Regions from separate parts of the Homo sapiens genome. Here all the other regions are linked to region 7. The links are contacts of gene promoters, found by promoter capture Hi-C in blood cells and fetal thymus (Javierre and others, 2016). All regions are on one chromosome and are shown on one strand. Each heading gives the region's core, a stretch centred on a gene start or on the middle of the fragment in contact. The rest is flanking DNA. Distances are from core to core; before and after follow the strand shown.

Region 1 (2,700 bases), core at 96-2,595, about 19 Mb after region 7:
GGGTTTCACCATGTTGGTCAGGCTGGTCTCGAACTCCTGACCTCGTGATCCACCCACCTCGGCCTCCCAAAGTGCTGGGATTACAGGCATGAGCCACCGCACCCAGCCCAGTTTCTTTTTTTTTAAATAAAGTTTTTACAGGTGTGTACCACCATGCCTAGCTAATTTTTGTATTTTTAGTAGAGACAGGGTTTGCCATGTTGCCCAGGTTGGTCTTGAACCCCTGGGCTCAAGCGATCCGCCTGCCTTAGCCTCCCAAAGTGCCGGGATTACAGGCATGAACTACTGCGCCCAGCCCAGTTTCTTATATATACTTATATAATCCATGAATCCCACCCTCAGGTGTTTAACCCGAGGTAACAAAGCATACATTAAAACAAAGACTTGTAAACAAGCACTCATAATAGCTTTATTCATGCCTGCGAAAGACTAGAAACAACTTAGATGTTCATAAACTGTTAACTAATAAGCAGATATGAAATACTATTCAGCAAGAAAAAGGAATTAACTACTGAGACTTCTAACTACTTGGATGAATCGCATAAATATCAGAAGTAGAAGTAGTATGACACAGAATACTGCATATTCTGATTTATTTGATATGAAATTGTAGAAAAGACAAAATTAGGGAAAGAAGGCAACTTAGTTGCCTGTCACGGGCTGAGCTGAAAGTGGGGGAAGGGTACTGACTGTAAAGAAACATAATGGAAAGTTTTGACATGATAGACATGTTCTACATCTTGACTGAAGTGGTGATGATTACAAGACTCACGTGTTTGTCCAAAATAATTAAACAGATACAATTAATGAATTTTATTCTATATAAATCATATCTCAATAAAGCTGATTTGAAAAAAAATAGTAAGGCTGGCCAGGCGCGGTGGCTCATGCCTGTAATCCCAGCACTTTGGGAGGCCGAGGCGGGCGGATCACAAGGTCAGGAGATCGAGACCATCCTGGCTAACACGGTGAAACCCCATCTCTGCTAAAAATACAAAAACTTAGCCAGGCGTGGTGGTGGGCACCTGTAGTCCCAGGTACTCCAGAGGCTAAGGCAGGAGAATGGCGTGAACCCGGGAGGCGGAGCTTGTAGTGAGCCGAGATCGCACCACTGCACTCCAGCCTGGGCGACAGAGCGAGACTCCGCCTTAAAAAAAAAAAAAAAAAAAAAAAAAAAAAGTAAGGCTATTTTCCAAAGCTCTATGTAATGCTCTAAACAAAATAATCCTGTATATTCCAGAATAAAAAATTTTAAGGAAACTATTAATTTCCTGTATTGACCACAGAAGAAATAAAAAGCCTAAGCAAATGAAATTCCATTGTGAAACACCTATCCTTGCAAACAATTTCATAGACGTCTATCAAAGTTTTAAAGAACAGATAATTTTAAAGTTAGTTTAGCTACTCGAGAAAAGAGCAAAAAGAAAAGTTATCTTATCCTTTTTATAAAATTATGATAAGCAAAACAACTAAGCAGAATTAAGAACTTTAGAGGCAAACATTTTTAAGAAAGAATGAAAAACTATCATGATTTGCAAATGATCTGATTATATACAGCCCAAGAATTTCAACTAAAAAAAATCTGCAAATAAAATACAAATCAGAATTTGGCTTGATATAGAGGAATCAACATACTATATAGAACTTAATAGCCTTTTCTTCATAGTTTTAAAAATGCATTATTTTTTACATTGACAGATAAATTTTATGTATTTACTCTGTACAACATATTTTGAAGAATATATACATTGTGAAATGACTAAATCTGGTATACAGTAAATAATCAATGTTAACTGTTATTATTATTAACTCCTGATTAACAGAAAATAAAAAGTGAACGAGCTATTGAGATGCAAGTAAACTGAACACCAGTATTCAAAATATATTTACATCTTTCACCTCAAACATAACTCTCCTTTCCCTCCTGCCAATTCTTAGCTGATGATCTCCCTTATTCCTCTAATAAAAATGAAGCATTGAAAAGAAATACATAATACCACATCAATCAACCCACCTATATCCATTGTCGTATCTATAGTTCTCTAAATTTTTCTTGTGCACTGGATCCTACCTCCTTGTCCTCCAATTTCCATAATTATCCTTCCCTCTACTACAATTTTTCCCCTTTCTATAGAATCATTTTCATCTTAAAATCTCACATCTTGAAATAGACTCCTGGCCAGGCATGGTGGCTCACGCCCAGCACTTTGGGAGGCCAAGATGGGTGGATCATCTGAGGTCAGGAGTTCAAGACCAGCATGGCCAACATAGTGAGACCCCGTTTCTACTAAAATACAAAAATTAGCCAGGCGTGGTGGCAGGCGCCTGTAATACCAGCTACTCAGGAGGCTGAGGCAGGGGAATTGCTTGAACCCGGGAGGTGGAGGTTGCAGTGAGCCGAGATCATGCCATTGCACTGCAGCCTAGGCAACAAGAGCAAAACTCTGTCTCAAAAAAAAAAAAAAAAAAAAGACTCCTTACATCCCATATCCTCTTCTAGCTACTAACCTCTTATCTAGTTCCCTCCTAACAGATTTCCCATTAGAAAAGTTTTCTATCTCACTGTCATCACTGCCTCACCTCCCATTTTATTTCAGCCACATCTAGCAGGCTTTTTTCACCTCTGACTCCACTGAAACCTTGTCCTCTTAACACAAGGTCACCACCAGCTTCTTTCCTGCCATATCCTATAGGCAGTTT
Region 2 (2,700 bases), core at 123-2,622, about 19 Mb after region 7:
CCAAGTAAAGCCTCGTCCACAATCCTTGCACACATAAGGTTTCTCCCCTGAGTGTGTCCTCTGATGTGTGATCAGGTTTGACTTCCACGTAAAGCCTCGCCCACATTCCCTGCACACATAAGGCTTTCCCCCAGAGTGTGTCCTTGGGTTTTTGATGAGGACTGACATACTGCCAAAGCTGTCTCCCCACTCAGTGTACATGTAAGGTGTCTCCCCAGTTTGTGTCTTCTGGAGGCTAAGGAGGTTTGACTCCTTGATAAAGCCTGGCCCAAACTCTTCATATTTGATTTCTCCAAATCCTGAGACTTCTAAACCATGCAATACTTTGTCTGTTTCCTCTAGATCTGCCCTCCGTTCAGGGCTGGACCCTATATCCACCACTGTGTTGTCTTCCTTGGACTGTGCTGGCTGTTGTTCTTCAGGTGGGCTGGAAAGTGCCTTTGAAGTGCCATTTTTGCTTACTCTCCCAAACAGGAGTCTGGAGTCTTCTCCCTCTTGAATCCATTCTGCTTTGCCACTAAAGCAGAATGGATCCTGCTGTTGTTTCTGATCTTCTGGATAGTGTTTTCCCAGGTGGAGAGGATTTCCTGCCCATAAACTTGAAAACAGCTGAGAGAGATGACTCAGCCACACATGTTGGCTGAGAGCTTGCTGACTGGAGAAAATCAGAGGGCAGGAGGGACTAAGTTGAATTTCTGGCTTCGATTCTGCTGAAGAAAGAACATTTTCAGAGGGGCCATAGGTAGGGCTGTGTAGGCAATTTTGCCTTGCCCACTGGTCATTCATAATATATTTACATATTTACATCACAAGCTATCTCCCAGTTAGACATCCTTCCCAGCATCTATTTTTCATTTCACTTCATGCATTACACTTTCTTTTGTTTTTTTGTTTTTTTTTTTAAACGGAGTCTTTCTTTCACCCAAGCTGGAGTGCAGTGGTGCGATCTCAGCTCACTGCAACCTCCGCCTCCAGGGTTCAAGCGATTCTCCTGCCTTAGCCTCCCGAGTAGCTGGGATTACAGGCGTCCAAGACTACGCCCAGCTAATTTTTGTATTTTTAGTAGAGACAGAGTTTTACCGTGTTTGCCAGGCTGGTCTTGAACTCCTGACCTCAGGTCAGCCTAAGCCTCCCAAAGTGCTGGGATTACAGGCATAAGCCACTGTGTCTAGCCCTATGCATTACATTTTCTATTGCAGGAGTTGGCAAACTCACCTGACAGGCCAAATCCAGCCTGAAACCTGTTTCTGTATGGCCTGCCAGCTAAAAATGGTTTTTACCTTTTTAAGGGGTTGAATTCAAAAGAGGGAGACACAGAAAAGAGAAAGAGAAAGGAAGGAAGAAGAAGGAGGAGGAGGAGGAGAAGGAAAAGGAGAAGAAGAAAGAAGAAGTGGCAAATATTGCACGTGTTCTCAAAAACTTATGACGCCTGTAGTCCCAACACTTTGGGAAGCCGAGGCGGGCAGATCACGAGGTCAAGAGATTGAGACCATCCTGGCCAACATGGCGAAACCCTGTCTCCACTAAAAATAGAAAAATTAGCTGGCTATGGTAGCACACACATGTAGTCTCGGCTACTTGGGAGGCTGAGGCAGGAGAATCGCTTGAACCCCGGAGGCGGACGTTGCAGTGAGCTGAGATCGTGCCACCACACTCCAGCCTGGTGACACAGTGAGACTCTGTCTCAAAAAAAAAAAAAAAAAAAAGGAGAAGACAAACAAAATGAGGAGAAAATAAATGAAAGGCATCTTAACTAGAAAGGAAGAAGTAAAAAAAATCTCTTGTTCACAGATTATATAATTTTGTAAGCATAAAATTTCAAAAAAGCAACTAGAAGTCATAATTGTACTTAGGTCATATAAGATAAATATATAAAAAATAATTATATTTCTATATACTAGCAATGACTATTCTAAAAATGAAACTGAGAAAACAATACTATTCACGATAGCATAAAAATAATAAAATGCTAAGGAATAAATGTGACAAAGTAGCACAAAGTTTGTAAACTGAAAATTAAGGCTGGGCACGGTGGCTCATGCCTGTAATCCCAACACTTAAGGAGGCTGAGGTGGGAGGATTGCTTGAGGCCAGAAGTTAGAGGCCAGTTTGGGCAACATAGTGGGATGAAAGAAAGAGAAGAGAAAGAGAAAAGGAAAGGAAAGGAGGAAAAGAAGAAAGATTTTTAAAAAGAAAATTAACAAACATTGTTGAATGAAGTTAAAGCTCCAAATAAATAGGGAGACAGTCATAGATTGGAAGGCTTACTATTATTAAGATGGTGATTCTCACCAAAATTTATCTGCAGATTCAACATAATCATGGTATCACAACCACAGCAGGCTTTTGGTTTTTTTCCCTTTTGGAAATTCACAATCTGATCCTAAAACTTACATTGAAATTCAAAGGACATAAAATAGACAAAACAATTTCTGAAAAAGAAAATAAAGTTGGGGAGTGTATACTTCTAACTTCAAAACTTAATATAAAGCTACAGTAATGAAGATAGTGTGCTACTGTCATAGGAGGAAGATGGAGATCATGGAACAAAATCAGGAGACTAGAAATGAACACTTAGATTCACAGTCAGCTGATTTTTGATAAAGGTGCCAAGGTAATTCAATGGGAGGAAGGATACTCTTTATATGAGATTGTAAGGACAACTGAATATTCATATGCAAGAAAATGAATTTAGATTTT
Region 3 (2,700 bases), core at 103-2,602, about 19 Mb after region 7:
TGGTGAAACCCGGTCTCTACTAAAAATACAACAATTAACTGGGTGTGGTGGTACGCACCTGTAGTCCCAGCTACTTGGGAGGCTGATACAGGAGAATCGCTTGAACCCAGGAGGTGGAGATTGCAGTGAGCCAAGATTGCGCCACTGCACTCCAGCCTGGACAACAAGAGAAAAACTCTGTCTCAAAAAAAAAAAAAAAATCAGCTGGGTGTGGTAGCTCACACCTGTATAATCCCAGCACATTGGGAGGCCAAGAAGGGTGGATCACCTGAGGTCAGGAGTTTGAGATCAACCTGGCCAACATGGCGAAACCCTGTCTCTACTAAAATTACAAAAATTATCTGGGCATGATGGTGAGCACCTGTAATCCCAGCTACTCGGGAGGCTGAGGCAGGAAAATCCCTTGTACCTGGAAGGCAGAGGTTGCAGTGAGCCAAGATCGTGCCATTGCACTCCAGCCTGGGTGACAGAGCAAGGCTCCATCTCAAAAAAAAAGCATAAAAAATCAAGGAAACGCATTCTCCCATACAGTTTTAGGAAGGAATATAGGCTGCTGACATCTTGATTTTAGCTCTGTAAGGCCTACTTTTTACTTCTGACCTCCAGAGCTACAATAAATTTGTGTTGGATTAAGCCACTAAATGTGTGCTAATTTGTTACAGCAGGAAAAAAACTAAGCAGACAACTTTTCTGGAGGGGAATGTAGCAATTCCTTATAAAACTACGTATATACGGCCGGGCATGGTGGCTCATAACTGTAATCCCAGCACTTTGGGAGGCCAAGGCTGGCACGGATCACGAGGTCAAGAGATTGAGACCATCCTGGCCAACATGGTGAAACCCTGTCTCTACTAAAAATACAAAAATTAGCCAGGCGTGGTGGCATGCGCCTGTAGTCACAGCTACCCGGGAGGCTGAGGCAGGAGAATCACTTGAACCCGGGAGGCGGAGCTTGCAGTGAGCCGAGATTGCCCACTGCACTCCAGCCTGGTGACAGAGCGAGACTCCATCTCAAACAAAAACAGTAACAAATGGACCTGAAATAACCAACCTAAGTAATTTTGGAAATAGTATTTTGACTGGACACTATAAGACTAAAACAAAAAGTACTATATACAAATACCTAAATCTAGTTGGTAAATTTGTTTCTCACAGAGAAGTAAGTTAGAAATTCTGAAACTACTTTATGTGTATACTAAAATTGAACAAATAGGTAAATATATTTTTTCTCATTATCAGAAAAAGAAATTACAAATAAGTCAAGGAGGAAGGCTACAATAAACCCTGTAAAGCAGGACTAGAAATCAAGTTATTAATATAAACTGATAGTTTTAGTATATAAAAAGATAGAGGTAATAAAAAATGGGAAAAAAAGAGGCAGAAATAAATATAGGGGTGTGTGTGTAAATATCTATCTATCTATCTATCTATCTATCTATCTATCTATCTATCTACCTATCTATCTATCTGTTTCCTAGCTTTAGCTGCTGTCAGGGCCAGAAAGAGTGATATCCCAGTAGCCTAGAGCATACCTAGCTTGGTTTCTAAACACCATTTCCCAATAAAGCAATGAGGGCTCCTTGGAGAAGTGGTTGATTCAAGGCTGGGGCAAGGAAAATAAGAGAACCTGGAATACCTTGTGCCAGAAGGAAGGACGTGCCCAAAAAATGCATGGGGGCATGTCAGAAGGTCAAAGGAACCAATGTGAAGGAGATTCCAACATTCAAAGCTGGAACGATTTGAGAAACATAATGATTCATTGGATTTACTTCATAGAAATAAAAATCCATAAATCCAAAAATAAATCCATTTAAATTTTATGAAGTCATTAAATTTTATGAGGTAAATTAGATTTACCTCATAGGAAAAAAATCCATAAATATAATTGAATATATAAGTAAATGGAGGAGAAAGAGCAGCTCTTCCTTCAGAACAATCCCAATTAATATACACAAAGAAAAGAGGGAAATGGAACAAATCAACATTAGGTTAATACCACAGTAATAATAGTTGAAGAGATCCAGCAATAAATGCTAAAATAAATGGGCAAAAATTACAGAAGAAACTGAATAATCTCAAAGTATCTCCCCCAAGATATTTATTAACTACAAATAGAAAAATAAGAACTTTATAATGGAGAAACCAAGCAGACACTACCTTCACTAAGTGTGCAAAGTTAACATCACCGATAATAAGACATATCGATATTATACATCCTTTGGAATGATGCACTGAGAGAGATACAACATTATTTCTGTGACATTCTTTGCAAAAATGCACTACCTCAATCTAATTATGAGAAAATATCAGATAAATCAGATAGATCCAAATTGAGTGCATGCAAATATAATGAGCCATTTGTGTAGAGTGAAGCGTATCTGAGGATTCCAGGAGAGATTTCTCCAAGAAGATGAAGTGGATAGATCACCTAATATGTCCAAGTATCTTGAAAGACTCAGACAATTGATGGTAAGTCGGGAACTGGATTAGGGTTATGTATATATAAACTGAGCAAAAACAAACAAACAAACAAACAAAATTCCCAAGTCATTATTAACTCCAGGAAAAATAAAAAGGAGTAGAGAAAAAGTAACTTGCCATATGCACAGCACAGCTATGACTAGCACTAAATGGCCATAATAAAATAAATGCTGAATAGTGACTTAATCAAAATGATGACATTGATAAGATAGGGGATGG
Region 4 (2,700 bases), core at 156-2,655, about 19 Mb after region 7:
ACCCACCATATATGTTTACATTCATGTTATTTGCTTTATCTTATTTCAGCTCTTTTTATCCGCTTATGTATGGGTTATTTCTGTATCATTTGAGAGTAAGTTGTAGATACCATGGCCCTTTGCCTTTAAATATATGCAAATTTCCTGGATAACTGTGATACTATAATCATACTGGAAAAATGTAATAATTTATATAGTGTCTTCAAATATGTGCCCAAAGATTTTTTATAACGACTTATTTTCTAATCAGTATCCACTCTTGGTTAATTCATTGCATTTGGGATTTTTTTTTAATTTATTCCTTTTCTCTAGGATAATATCCCCACTTTTTCATGCTTTTGAATTTTTCCTTTTTTTTTTCTTTTTTTTTGAGACAGAGTCTCACTCTGTCACCAGGCTGGAGTGCAGTGGTGCGATCTTGGCTTACTGCAACCTCTGCCTCCCGGGTTCAAGCAATTCTGCCTCAGCCTCCCAAGTAGCTGGGACTACAGGCGCATGCCACCACACCCAGCTAATTTTTGCATTTTTAGTAGAGACGGGATTTCATCATGTTGGCCAGGATGGTCTGGATCTCTTGACCTTGTGATCCACCCGCCTTGGCCTACCAAAGTGCTGGGATTACAGGCGTGAGCCACCACACCCAGCCTGAATTTTTCTTTTTTAAGTACCCAAAGAATGTCCCACATTCTTGATTTCTGCTTCACAGTATGATTTAACTTGTTGCTCTGTCCCTTGTTTTCCCATAAATTGGCAGTTATGTCTAGAAAATTCATTAGGTTGAGATTTTTGTCAAGAACATCTCATGAATGATGCTGCAGACTTCTGAAAGCATATCAGGTTTTTACATGATTATTTATGCTACACTGTAAAGCTTGCTTAAAGAGGCAACTGTCAGCTCTCCATTGAACAATTCCATTTTGCATTAGTAATTTGATGGGTGCTACATTGATCCGTTAATTTGAAAACATAATCCCTTTAATTCAGGAAACAAGGATTGAAACAAAAAGATGTCATTGTATTCATCTCTCTGTGTAGCACATATGAACTGCCTGTTAAAGGTTAGACTATAAATCTGTGGATAGAAACAATGTTAATATATGAGGCTAGAAGAAAGGAAAACAAATATACCAATATTAAGAAAAAATTAATAAAACTAGATAAAGAGATTAATGATTAGGAAATAAAACTAGTTTTTATTCAAATCTTACCCCCTCCCATTTTGTGGAACATGAGCTAAATCTCTAGATATAATCAAGAAAAATTTTAAAAGAGATATGAAGAAAATGTTTTAAATTAAAAGTTAATTTTTGCCGGGCACAGTGGCTCACGCCTGTAATCCCAGCACTTTGGGACGCCGAGGCAGGTGGATCATTTGAGGTCAGGAGTTCGAGACCAGCCTGGCCAGCATGATGAAACCTCATCTCTACTACAAATACAAAAATTAGCTGGGCATGGTGGCATGCGCCTGTAATCCTAGCTACTTGGGAGGCTGAGACAGGAGAATCGCATGAACCTGGGAGGCAGAGATTGCAGTGAGCCGAGATCATGCCATTGCACTCCAGCCTGGGCAATAGAGCGAGAACCAGTCTCAAAAGAAAGAGTTAATTTTTGATGTTTATACCAAAATATTTAGCAATCTCTAATGTATTTTGAGAAGGAATTATATTTGTGAAAGAATATAGTTTTTCAAAATGACATAGATATTGTAGGAAATCGGAATTTTTAAAACATGATTGAAAACAAGATGAGTTTCACTCATTAGGGTAAATGGAAAATTTCTGAGTATGATATCAGCAAACTCTAAGATTCTTTTAAAATAATTGTGCAATAGTCATTTTTCTGGCAGAGTCAATTCATTCTTCTGGTTCAATATATTCTAGACAAATGAAAGAAAAGGAATGTTGATCTGTGTTTATCCTTGTAATTTTTCTAAGCTTTATATACAGTTTTATAAATGGGATGAATTATGTGCACGATACCATCAATTCTAAAAACTACCTTTTTAAAAACCTTTTGGAAATCAGGATTGCAGTTGATAACTACCTAAACTCACTTCCAGCCCTATAAAAATTACTTTTCCAAACTAAGGAGCATCACGCATTATGCATTGTCAGCCAAAGTTCTGTAGTGTCAGCGTGATCATTCGTTGTGTCTGTAGTGTCAGCGTGATCATTCGTTGTGTCTGTAGTGTCAGCGTGAACATTGTGTCTGTAGTGTCAGCGTGATCATTTGTTGTGTCTTTAGTGTCAGCGTGATCATTCGTTGTGTCTGTAGTGTCAGCGTGATCATTCGTTGTGTCTGTAGTGTCAGCGTGATCATTCATTGTGTCTGTAGTGTCAGCGTCATCATTGTGTCTGTAGTGTCAGCGTGATCATTTGTTGTGTCTTTAGTGTCAGCGTGATCATTCATTGTGTCTGTAGTGTCAGTGTGATCATTCGTTGTGATCTACATGCTCATATCCCTTTTGTCCACAAAGGAAATAATTCGCCTTTAAATATTAACATCATTTCCCCTATGCAATTTTAAGTTTTGATAATGAAATAAAACACAATGCAGAATGATTTTGCTATAGGTTAGATGACCACTGTACTTGATAATTGAAAAATGGTTTATGTTCTTAGACAAGCCAATGAAGCAATCTCCTGCTCTTGGAACAAACAAAAACCACATGATTAACCTCTCACAAGATTGACGTGCACT
Region 5 (2,700 bases), core at 151-2,650, about 12 Mb after region 7:
GGGCAGGGTCCAGCAGCCCCAGCTCCTCCTCAGTGAAGACCACAGCCACATCCTTGAAGGTCACTGCCTCCTACAACATCAAGAAGACATAACTTCAATCTTATGACCAAGGACTACTGGGGGAGAAGCGGCATTGAGCAGGGGAAGGGGATGAGTGGAAAGTTGTTCTCAGTATTGAGGGATGTAGGTCAACTTAGAGATTTCCCACTCATTCTGTCTATATCCTGACAATGACACATACTGATTTTCCTGAACTCCACCAGAAGTGCAATGATGAAGTCTCATACATTTATTCTGTGCACTCATTGAGTCTACTTGTATGTAACCCTCTAGGACTCTACATGCTGCATCCTGAGCTACCCATATATAGGTTCGACACATCTTGCCAACTGCCCCAGCAACATTAAACAATTCAGTCCCAACTTTGTTGGGTCCTCCTCTCTCGTACTCAAACCCTGGATGCTATTGCTTTTCTTTAGTATTTGCTAAACTAACAAGTTTTAGGTAACTGTGGGTAATTTTCAGGGTGGCCTTGAATCATTCTTTCTTGTGTATAGTTTTGAAGAATAAACATAGAACATGCTAGCAATGCAATGTTCCTGTCCTTCCTAGGGAAGATAATGTCTTGAGTTAGGGAGAAAGTGCCCAGTAAGTCGTATTGCCCCGGAGGTATATAACCTCGGGTGGGCTGCCTTCTGGGGTACCTCTGCTCTGGTGGAAATGGGGTCAAGATTCTACCCACCCCAGGACGTTTTCTTCAGCCTTGGATGGCCACCTCACAGTGTATCCTACACTCCTGTGCTCCCTTGCTGCCAATTTGTAGATAACAAATCTGCTTCACGTAATCTGTTGAGTGAGATCGTGTTCTGTCTCACAGGACTCACACAAGTTGGTAATCAGTGCACAGTGAACCTACTCCACAGTACCAGTGTGGACAGCTGAGTGGGACAGTTATGTAGTGTGTCCTCTACTCTCAAGGTACAAACCACAAATGTTAATTGCAGCCTTCAGTGTCCTGATCAGAAGCCAGAATGCATCACTGTACATCCTAAGGGTCTGCCCCTTCCTAACTGTGTGGCCTTAGACATGTTTGCCTACAGGATTTACTTTCCTCTCTAAATAATAGTCCTTATTTGGCACAGTATTTTAAAGGATTAAACAAGGAAATACATAGCATTTGGAAACATCTGTGCCACTGTTTAATGAACATTAGCTGGAATCTTTTTTACTGTTGTTACTAGCATTATCTATTTCATGGCTGCATAGTATTCCAGAGATCTGATGACCTACTTTTAGCTACAGTAAAGAATATTTAATTTTACATATTTTCCATTATCAATCCTGTAAAGAGCATCATTAAGTAATGATGTAGCAAGATGTAAGAACATCTTACTCTCTCATTGTTTAAAATAATAATTTCAAATGAAAATTAAAACATCAAAAAATAAGCACATTTAGAACTGTGATCATATAACTGCATGCTTTCTTCCCAGTTTTTTACCTACCTCCATAATCTTTGAACAGAATACAAGTACTTTGCTTCTCTTTATCATGACCAAGAGCAGGTTATAAGTATTCCCACAGTCTTGGTAATCTGATTTGGGGAACAAATCATTCTATTATTCTCACTTATTTGATTACAAATGAAAACCATCACTTTTCAAGGTTATTGGCCATCTCTACTTCTCCTTTTACATTGGCCTTTTAGTGTCCTTTGTTCCTATCTGTTTGGAGTTTTTCCTTTATTCTGTGCTCAAGGTTTTGATTTTGAATTTTATTTTCTTTAGGTATCCACGTGGCTAACATTTCTGCCCCAGGTCATTATTTCTTCTGGTAACATTGTGTGAGGCATCTTTTGCCAAAAGGGATTTAAAGATTTTCTATAACAACTATGGTAATCAGTATACTTCAGTGCCTGGAGTAGATGCCATGTCATAGTGACATGTGACAAGAAGTCACACCAAGTAGGGACAGGGAGGAGCAGCACCACTAGGGACACCATCACTCCACAGGGCACTCCAGACATCCACATCACAGGGCACAGGTTGCTCAATGGAGAATTCTGTCTCTCTCCTTGTTTCTCTTTTTCACCTGAGCCGAATGGCTAACACTCCTGACCTTTGGTTGCCTGTGTACACCTGAGAAGGTTTCTCATATTTCACCTGTTCAAGAAGAAGAAGAGACCAGGAACCTCATTCCGCTGCGCTGAGGAGTAAATGTAGTAACAGAACACAAGTGATTGGCAAAACTTAGTATCACTGGACATTTTAAATGAAGGCTTTCTACTGCTTTGGTTAAACTGCTTACTACATAAATGAATAAGAAGAGACCAGTAAATAAAGCACATGCAAAGTATGACTGAGACAAGGAGAACACAGAATCTAGCTCTTCCAGTGTGAAAACTCCAACAATATTTGTGTGGTGCAGCAGTTACATCCTTTTGTTCTGTGCCTAGTTAAAATATTCTATCTGCAAAACAGCCAATGTGGTACATATCAAAAGTACCCTTTCAAAATTGAGCTAAAATGGCATATGGTTTTCAAAATTAATTTTGTGGGAAAAGGTTATGTATAGGAAAGCTGTCACTGCAGTGTTGCTTAAAATATGTCTATGAGCGTGAGGTAGTTATAAATAAAAAGATACATCAATGTAATAGGAATATGATGTAACCATAAAAATGGAAGATTATATAACATATAA
Region 6 (2,700 bases), core at 142-2,641, about 19 Mb after region 7:
GAATGGGAATGCCTGGACCCTGCTCAGAGGGACTTGTACAGGGATGTGATGTTGGAGAACTACAGCAACCTGATCTCATTGGGTAAGATCATCCTACGTAATATTCAGAATTTGTTCCCCATAATTTCTGCCTCATTCATTGTGAATTTCTGATCTCCATTCCCTAAGGAAAGGCTTACGTTTGAGTAGAAGTAGAAATGGACAGCTCCACCGTGTACCTTTTTATCTCTTATCCTTTAGACTGTCACATCTTTCTCTGTCACTTCCTGTCAGTGTCTCCCTTCTTTGATGCCAATGGACTAGATTTGAATCTGGGAATCCCCTAGCATGACCATGCACCATTTCCTTTCTTTTAAGCTGTATGTGCAGTCCCTAAGCCAAATATACTTTCCTTACTGGAGCAAGGAAAGGAGCCCTGGATGCTGATGAGAACCATGACATAAAGACAGAGCTCAGGTGAATAAAGGCTGGTCACAGTGTCAGCTATTGCTAATAATACAGCTGATCCGTAGGTGGCAGCACTTTGAGGTGTGTGCCTGAAGCTCTCTTCAAAGGCCTGTGGAAAGAAGGCTTGAGACATAGGGAGAGCAGGAAGGTTATGTGTGTGAGTTCCCCGTGGAACCTCCCTCCCAACTCCCATTTGCCACTCTTCTGTTTTACATTCCCTTTTTGTTTTAATAAGGGAGCTACCTTTGGTCTGATCTCTTTTGGGGACAATGCTTTTATCTATTTTTTGAATTACGTTTTTCCTGGTTGCTCTTTTATAGTTAAACTTGGATAAGTATCTCTAGCCAGCACATACGTACTGAGAGCTTGCTACGTTCATAGGTTAGGAGGACCAGGAATGATAGCTCAGGGGAGGTAACATTTGAATTAAGACCTGAATAAAGTTGGCTGTAAATCAGGGAAAGGTGTGTTCAGGCAGAGGGAAGAGAAGATCCTGAGAGAAACTGAGCTTCACTTGTTTGAGAATCAGCAAGAAGGCCAGTGTGGCTACTGAAAGTGGAAATTTGAGGTGAGGTTAGAGAAATAGGCAGAGGTCAAATCATGTAGGACCTTGTTGGTTGTTGCAAGCAGTGAGATTTTATTCTAAGTGTGATAGGGAGCCCCTGGCTGACTTTTTGCAGACAAGTAAAGGATCTTTGTTTAGAGGTCACTGAGTGCTATGTGAACAGTGAGGATAAAAATGAAAGCAGGAAGACTAATGAGAGGACTAGTTCAGAAGTTCACACTAGAGATAACAGTGGCTTGGAATTGGGTTTAATATGTGGAGGTGATGAGAACAGGCTATATTTTGAAGGTAGAATTAATACCTTCATAATGGAGTTATTTTGAAGATTGGCAATAGAGGCATCAGGGTTTGGAAGGCTGGAGAAGGAAGTCAAGAGTTACGTATTTGATATGCTCATTAGATATCTGTGTGGTGAAGTTAGATAAGCATTTGGAAGCCTGTGGGTGGAGGGGATAGTCAGGACTGAAGAGATAAATATGGGATTACTCTCTGTACCGAGGAACTGAATGAGATTATGGAGCGAATTGGTTTAGACGGAAGGCAAGGTACAGCTCAAGGACTGAACCATGGGGTGTTCCAACATTCAGTCAGGAAAACAATCTAGCAAAGGAAATTGAGGACTAACCTGAGTAACCTGTGACCTAGGAAGAGGGAATGCAGTGTATTGGAAGCCAACTGACAAAAGGAGGAAGCAGTTAGCTGAGAGAGATAATGCTAGGAGTTCAAGTAAGAGGAACGCTGAAAATTGGCTATTGGATTTGGCAGGATGAAGGGTGTTGGTGACCCTGACAAGGTGGGTTTGGCAATGAGAGGAACAAAAACCTCATTGTGGAGTATTTAAAAGAGAGTGAGAAAGAAGTAAGTCAACAATAAAAACTAGAGTGGGACAGTGAATTAACTCACCAGGCACTGTTGAAGGCCCATTTGAGGAACCCTCAAAGTTACAAATAGAGTTTACAATATTTTAGAAGGTTTTAAGAACACTGTAATAATTAGGGGAAAGAAGTGTGATTAGAGTTTATATATGCAGTATTATTTCAACTACATAAAAATCCATGGAACAAATTTAGGAAGGAAATATGGCAAAATGTTAATTATGGTGGTAGGAGAGAAAGAAAAGCAAAAGGTATAGACAGGAAGCATGCATACCTCTTGAGAAGTTTTGCCATTCTCCTGGTTCACCCTGCAGCTCCTGTCCACTGCAGGGTGAACCACAGAATCAGGAGAGGTTTTTGTTTTTTGTTTTTTTTTCACAGGAGAATCTTTAAAATGGTGGTAGGCTGGGCACAATGGCTCAAGCCTGTAATCCCAGTACTTTGGGAGGCTGAGGTGGGTGAATTGCTTGAGCCCAGGAATTCAGGACCAGCCTGGGCAACATAGCAAAACCCCATCTCTACTTAAAATAAAAATTAGCAGGGCATTATGTCACATGCCTGTGGTCCTAGCTACTTGGGAGACTGAGTTGGGAGGATCATTTGAGCCCCGAGGTCGAGGTTGCAGTGAACCATGATCACGCCACTGCATTTCAGCCTGGGCGACAGAGCAAGACCATGTCTCCAAAAAAAAAAAAAAAAGAAAGAAAGAAAGAAATGGAGATAAAATGCTGGAGGGGTGGTATAAAGGTAAATGATCTGGTAACTTCAGTGGTGGTGGTCAAAAAGGACGGTTGCTTGAAAGTGTGCTTTAAG
Region 7 (2,700 bases), core at 5-2,504:
CTGTCTCTCCCTTTTCAGCTCTCGTCCCTCCCTTTCTCCATCTTTTCCCCTTTATCTCAATCTTTCTGTCTCTCCACCACAACAGCAGTCTCCCAAACCCCAGAGCACACCAGCATCTCCAAGCACCCACACAGCTTCCTGCCCACACAAATCACAGACAACAAACCACATAGTTTCTCATTCTGGCACCTCCCCTGGCAACCTATGGACATGCCCCCACATTGTAGCCCGCCCTGCTCTCACAATGGGTCATATAAGGCCATTCTCAGTCACACTGTCACACTCACTGTCGGGATGACATACAGTGCTAAGTCACACCATCTCCCTCAGTCTCACATAATCACACACACTGTCATGCACAATCTCAAACACTGTCACATACAATCTTAGTCCAACAACAAAAACTCTGTTCACATACAGTTTCACATACAGTGACACAGTCTCACACACTGTCACACAAATTCTGTCGCAGTTTCATGTGGTCCCATATCAACAGCCACACACCGTACACAACCACACATAGCCTCACACACGGTGACATGGTCTCACATACTGTCACAGTCTCATCTAATCCTACACACACGGTCAAGCTCTGTTCACAAAGTCACACACACTGTCACACAGTCTTACATTATCCCACACACACAGGTCACACACACAGTGACATGGTCTTACACACTGTTCACACGTGGTCTACACATAATGACAGTTTAACACTGTCACACATTCCCAGTCTCACACATGGTGACGTGGTCTTAAGCACATACAGTGTCACACAGTCCCACACGGTCCCATATACTGTCAAAGGCTCCCGCATACACCGGGGCAACGGTCTCATACTGTCGCACACATTCTCACACCCAGTCTCATACTGTCACACATAGTCCCACATTTGTCCCACATGGTCTCACACTGACACACATATTCACACACGGCCTCACATTCTCACACTGTCACACACGGTCTCAAATTCTCACACAGTCACACATGGTCTCACACACGATTCCACACTGTCAAACACATTGTCACACACGGTTCCTTAATGTCTCACACATTCTCACACACTGTCACACACGGTCCCACACATGGTGGCATGGCCGCTCCCGGCGTCAGCTCCATCCCGCGCTCCTCACCGCCTCCTCCCTCCAGTGGGCACCTCCTTCGGCGCGGTCCTTGGAGGCCGGGGCTGGGCCAGGGCCCGGGCCAGGGCTCGATCCTGGCCGGCGGCCGCGCTCACAAAGGCGCCGCAGCCCTAGGGCAGGCCGCAGGGGCCGCTGGGAAATGGAGTCCGGGGCCGGCGCGGCGCAGAGGATGCTGGGATGTTGGCCGAGGGCCCCGGGCGGCCGCAGATCCCGCCGCTCAGTTGCGGGTAGTTACTGCTGCGCCCCTTTCCCTAGTAAGCCCACCTCCGCTGGCCTTCAGAATCCCACCCGGACCAGCTGAGCCCTCTCAGGCCGTTCGACTGTCCGCTCCCCCACCCGTTCCACCCGTTCCACCTGCGCAGGCGCAGCTGGTTCAGGTCCCCAAAGGCTGCCAGGCCGGGGTGCCAGCGCGGTGAGGCGCACGCGCAGTGACCGCGTCCGCGCTCCAGCGCTCCGGGTGGGGCTGTGAGTCCATCGCTGAGAAAAGGGAGCTGGAGGACCAGTGTGGAGCCTGAGCCAGCTGGAGAGGGGCCCGGTAGGATGTACGTGTGATTAAGCGCTCTGGCGGCCCGGGCTTTCTCTTTCCCTTTCTGTTTCTTCTCTCTCCGCCTTGCCCTGTCTTTCATTCGCCACTTATTGAGCGCCTGCTGTATCGGGCACTGTCGTGGGCCCTGGGCACACAGCAGTGAACAAGCAGACAAAATCCCCACCTCATGGAGCAGCATTCTAATGCGGGAGGAATTCAATAGGAAAAAATTAATAATAAAGGACACTGATGCATATTGGGAAGTAATGCGTATTATCAAGAAAAGCGAAGCAGAGTATTAAGATCATTCTTTCAGTTCTTCATTCTTTCAGTTATGCCCTCTGAATCAGTGGAAAAAACGCAAGGTGCATTTTTTTCTATTATCTCAACGACAACTAATCATAACAGAAGACTTTTCTGACCAAATATAGGGGAGTTTCCCACACATCTCAAGCAAGCAATGAGTTCAGTGAGTTCTGCAGCGGGCACCAGCTGGGTGTCCTCCAGTTTAATTCCGACGCCGTCTACTTGGAGATGGGTCAGACACCATTCGCTGAGGGCTCAGTCCCCAAGCCTGCCTCCCCCTTCCCACTTCCCACTAAAGTCTAGCCTCTGGAACATCTGACTCCACCACCTTCAAATTGGGATTTTCACCACCCCCTCTTTGCGGTTCGATATTTTGCTAGAGTGGCTCACGGAACTCAGGAAACACTTATGTTTACTAGTTTATTATAAAGGATATTACAAATGATATAGATGAAGAGATGCGTAGGGCAAAGTACAGAAAAAAGGGTGTTGCACCTTCCAGTAACCTCCACATGTTCAGCTGGGTGGAAGCTCTCTAAACCCTGTCTTTTGGGAGTTTTACAGAGGCTTCATTACATAGGCATGGTTGATTAAAATCCCGTCCCCTCCTTAGGGTTGGGGGTGGGGTTGAATGTCCCAACCTTCTAGTCATGTCTTGGTCTTTCCATAACCAGTCCCCATCCTGAAACTCTATAGGGGTTGCCAGCTGTCAACTCATTAGCATAC

Evidence for each region. The method cuts DNA at HindIII sites, captures the fragments that hold promoters and counts their contacts. A CHiCAGO score of 5 or more calls a contact.
Region 1: a fragment that was not itself captured here is called in contact with the fragment with the promoter of ZNF583 in region 7 in 2 of 17 cell types (naive CD8 T cells and non-activated CD4 T cells); the score reaches 10.0 in naive CD8 T cells.
Region 2: a fragment that was not itself captured here is called in contact with the fragment with the promoter of ZNF583 in region 7 in 1 of 17 cell types (naive CD8 T cells); the score reaches 8.1 in naive CD8 T cells.
Region 3: a contact is called between a fragment that was not itself captured here and the fragment with the promoter of ZNF583 in region 7, in 3 of 17 cell types (non-activated CD4 T cells, naive CD8 T cells and total CD4 T cells). The highest score is 11.6, in non-activated CD4 T cells.
Region 4: a contact is called between a fragment that was not itself captured here and the fragment with the promoter of ZNF583 in region 7, in 2 of 17 cell types (total CD8 T cells and total CD4 T cells). The highest score is 8.5, in total CD8 T cells.
Region 5: a contact is called between a fragment that was not itself captured here and the fragment with the promoter of ZNF583 in region 7, in 1 of 17 cell types (activated CD4 T cells). The highest score is 5.9, in activated CD4 T cells.
Region 6: a fragment that was not itself captured here is called in contact with the fragment with the promoter of ZNF583 in region 7 in 2 of 17 cell types (total CD4 T cells and non-activated CD4 T cells); the score reaches 8.4 in total CD4 T cells.

What each region holds. Positions count from the first base shown.
Region 1 is chr19:37,602,776-37,605,475 of GRCh38, reverse strand. The region is part of intron 4 of ZNF540 (zinc finger protein 540); the gene reads right to left. Among named protein-coding and RNA genes, the nearest start is that of ZNF540, 9.2 kb to the right of the region's middle. The HindIII fragment of the contact is 7,334 bases long and covers 1-2,700 here.
Region 2 is chr19:37,360,116-37,362,815 of GRCh38, reverse strand. It overlaps ZNF875 (zinc finger protein 875), which reads right to left. Exons shown (of 5, transcript NM_001353803.2): 5 at 1-707. Among named protein-coding and RNA genes, the nearest start is that of ZNF527, 9.6 kb to the left of the region's middle. The HindIII fragment of the contact is 7,616 bases long and covers 1-2,700 here.
Region 3 is chr19:37,381,040-37,383,739 of GRCh38, reverse strand. The region is part of intron 4 of ZNF527 (zinc finger protein 527); the gene reads right to left. Among named protein-coding and RNA genes, the nearest start is that of ZNF527, 11 kb to the right of the region's middle. The HindIII fragment of the contact is 4,583 bases long and covers 1-2,700 here.
Region 4 is chr19:37,730,626-37,733,325 of GRCh38, reverse strand. No RefSeq gene overlaps it. Among named protein-coding and RNA genes, the nearest start is that of ZNF607, 12 kb to the right of the region's middle. The HindIII fragment of the contact is 1,063 bases long and covers 874-1,936 here.
Region 5 is chr19:43,988,918-43,991,617 of GRCh38, reverse strand. ZNF155 (zinc finger protein 155) reads right to left here. Exons shown (of 5, transcript NM_198089.3): 3 at 1-70. Among named protein-coding and RNA genes, the nearest start is that of ZNF155, 6.1 kb to the right of the region's middle. The HindIII fragment of the contact is 3,880 bases long and covers 1-2,700 here.
Region 6 is chr19:37,581,353-37,584,052 of GRCh38, reverse strand. ZNF571 (zinc finger protein 571) reads left to right here. Exons shown (of 4, transcript NM_016536.5): 3 at 1-82. The region is part of intron 5 of ZNF571-AS1 (ZNF571 antisense RNA 1); the gene reads right to left. It also overlaps a transcript of ZNF540 not described here. Among named protein-coding and RNA genes, the nearest start is that of ZNF571, 12 kb to the left of the region's middle. The HindIII fragment of the contact is 5,270 bases long and covers 1-2,700 here.
Region 7 is chr19:56,402,886-56,405,585 of GRCh38, reverse strand. It overlaps ZNF583 (zinc finger protein 583), which reads right to left and starts at 1,254. Exons shown (of 5, transcript NM_152478.3): 1 at 1,134-1,254. RefSeq lists a silencer at 1,021-1,230 and an enhancer at 1,691-1,830. The HindIII fragment of the contact is 8,045 bases long and covers 1-2,700 here.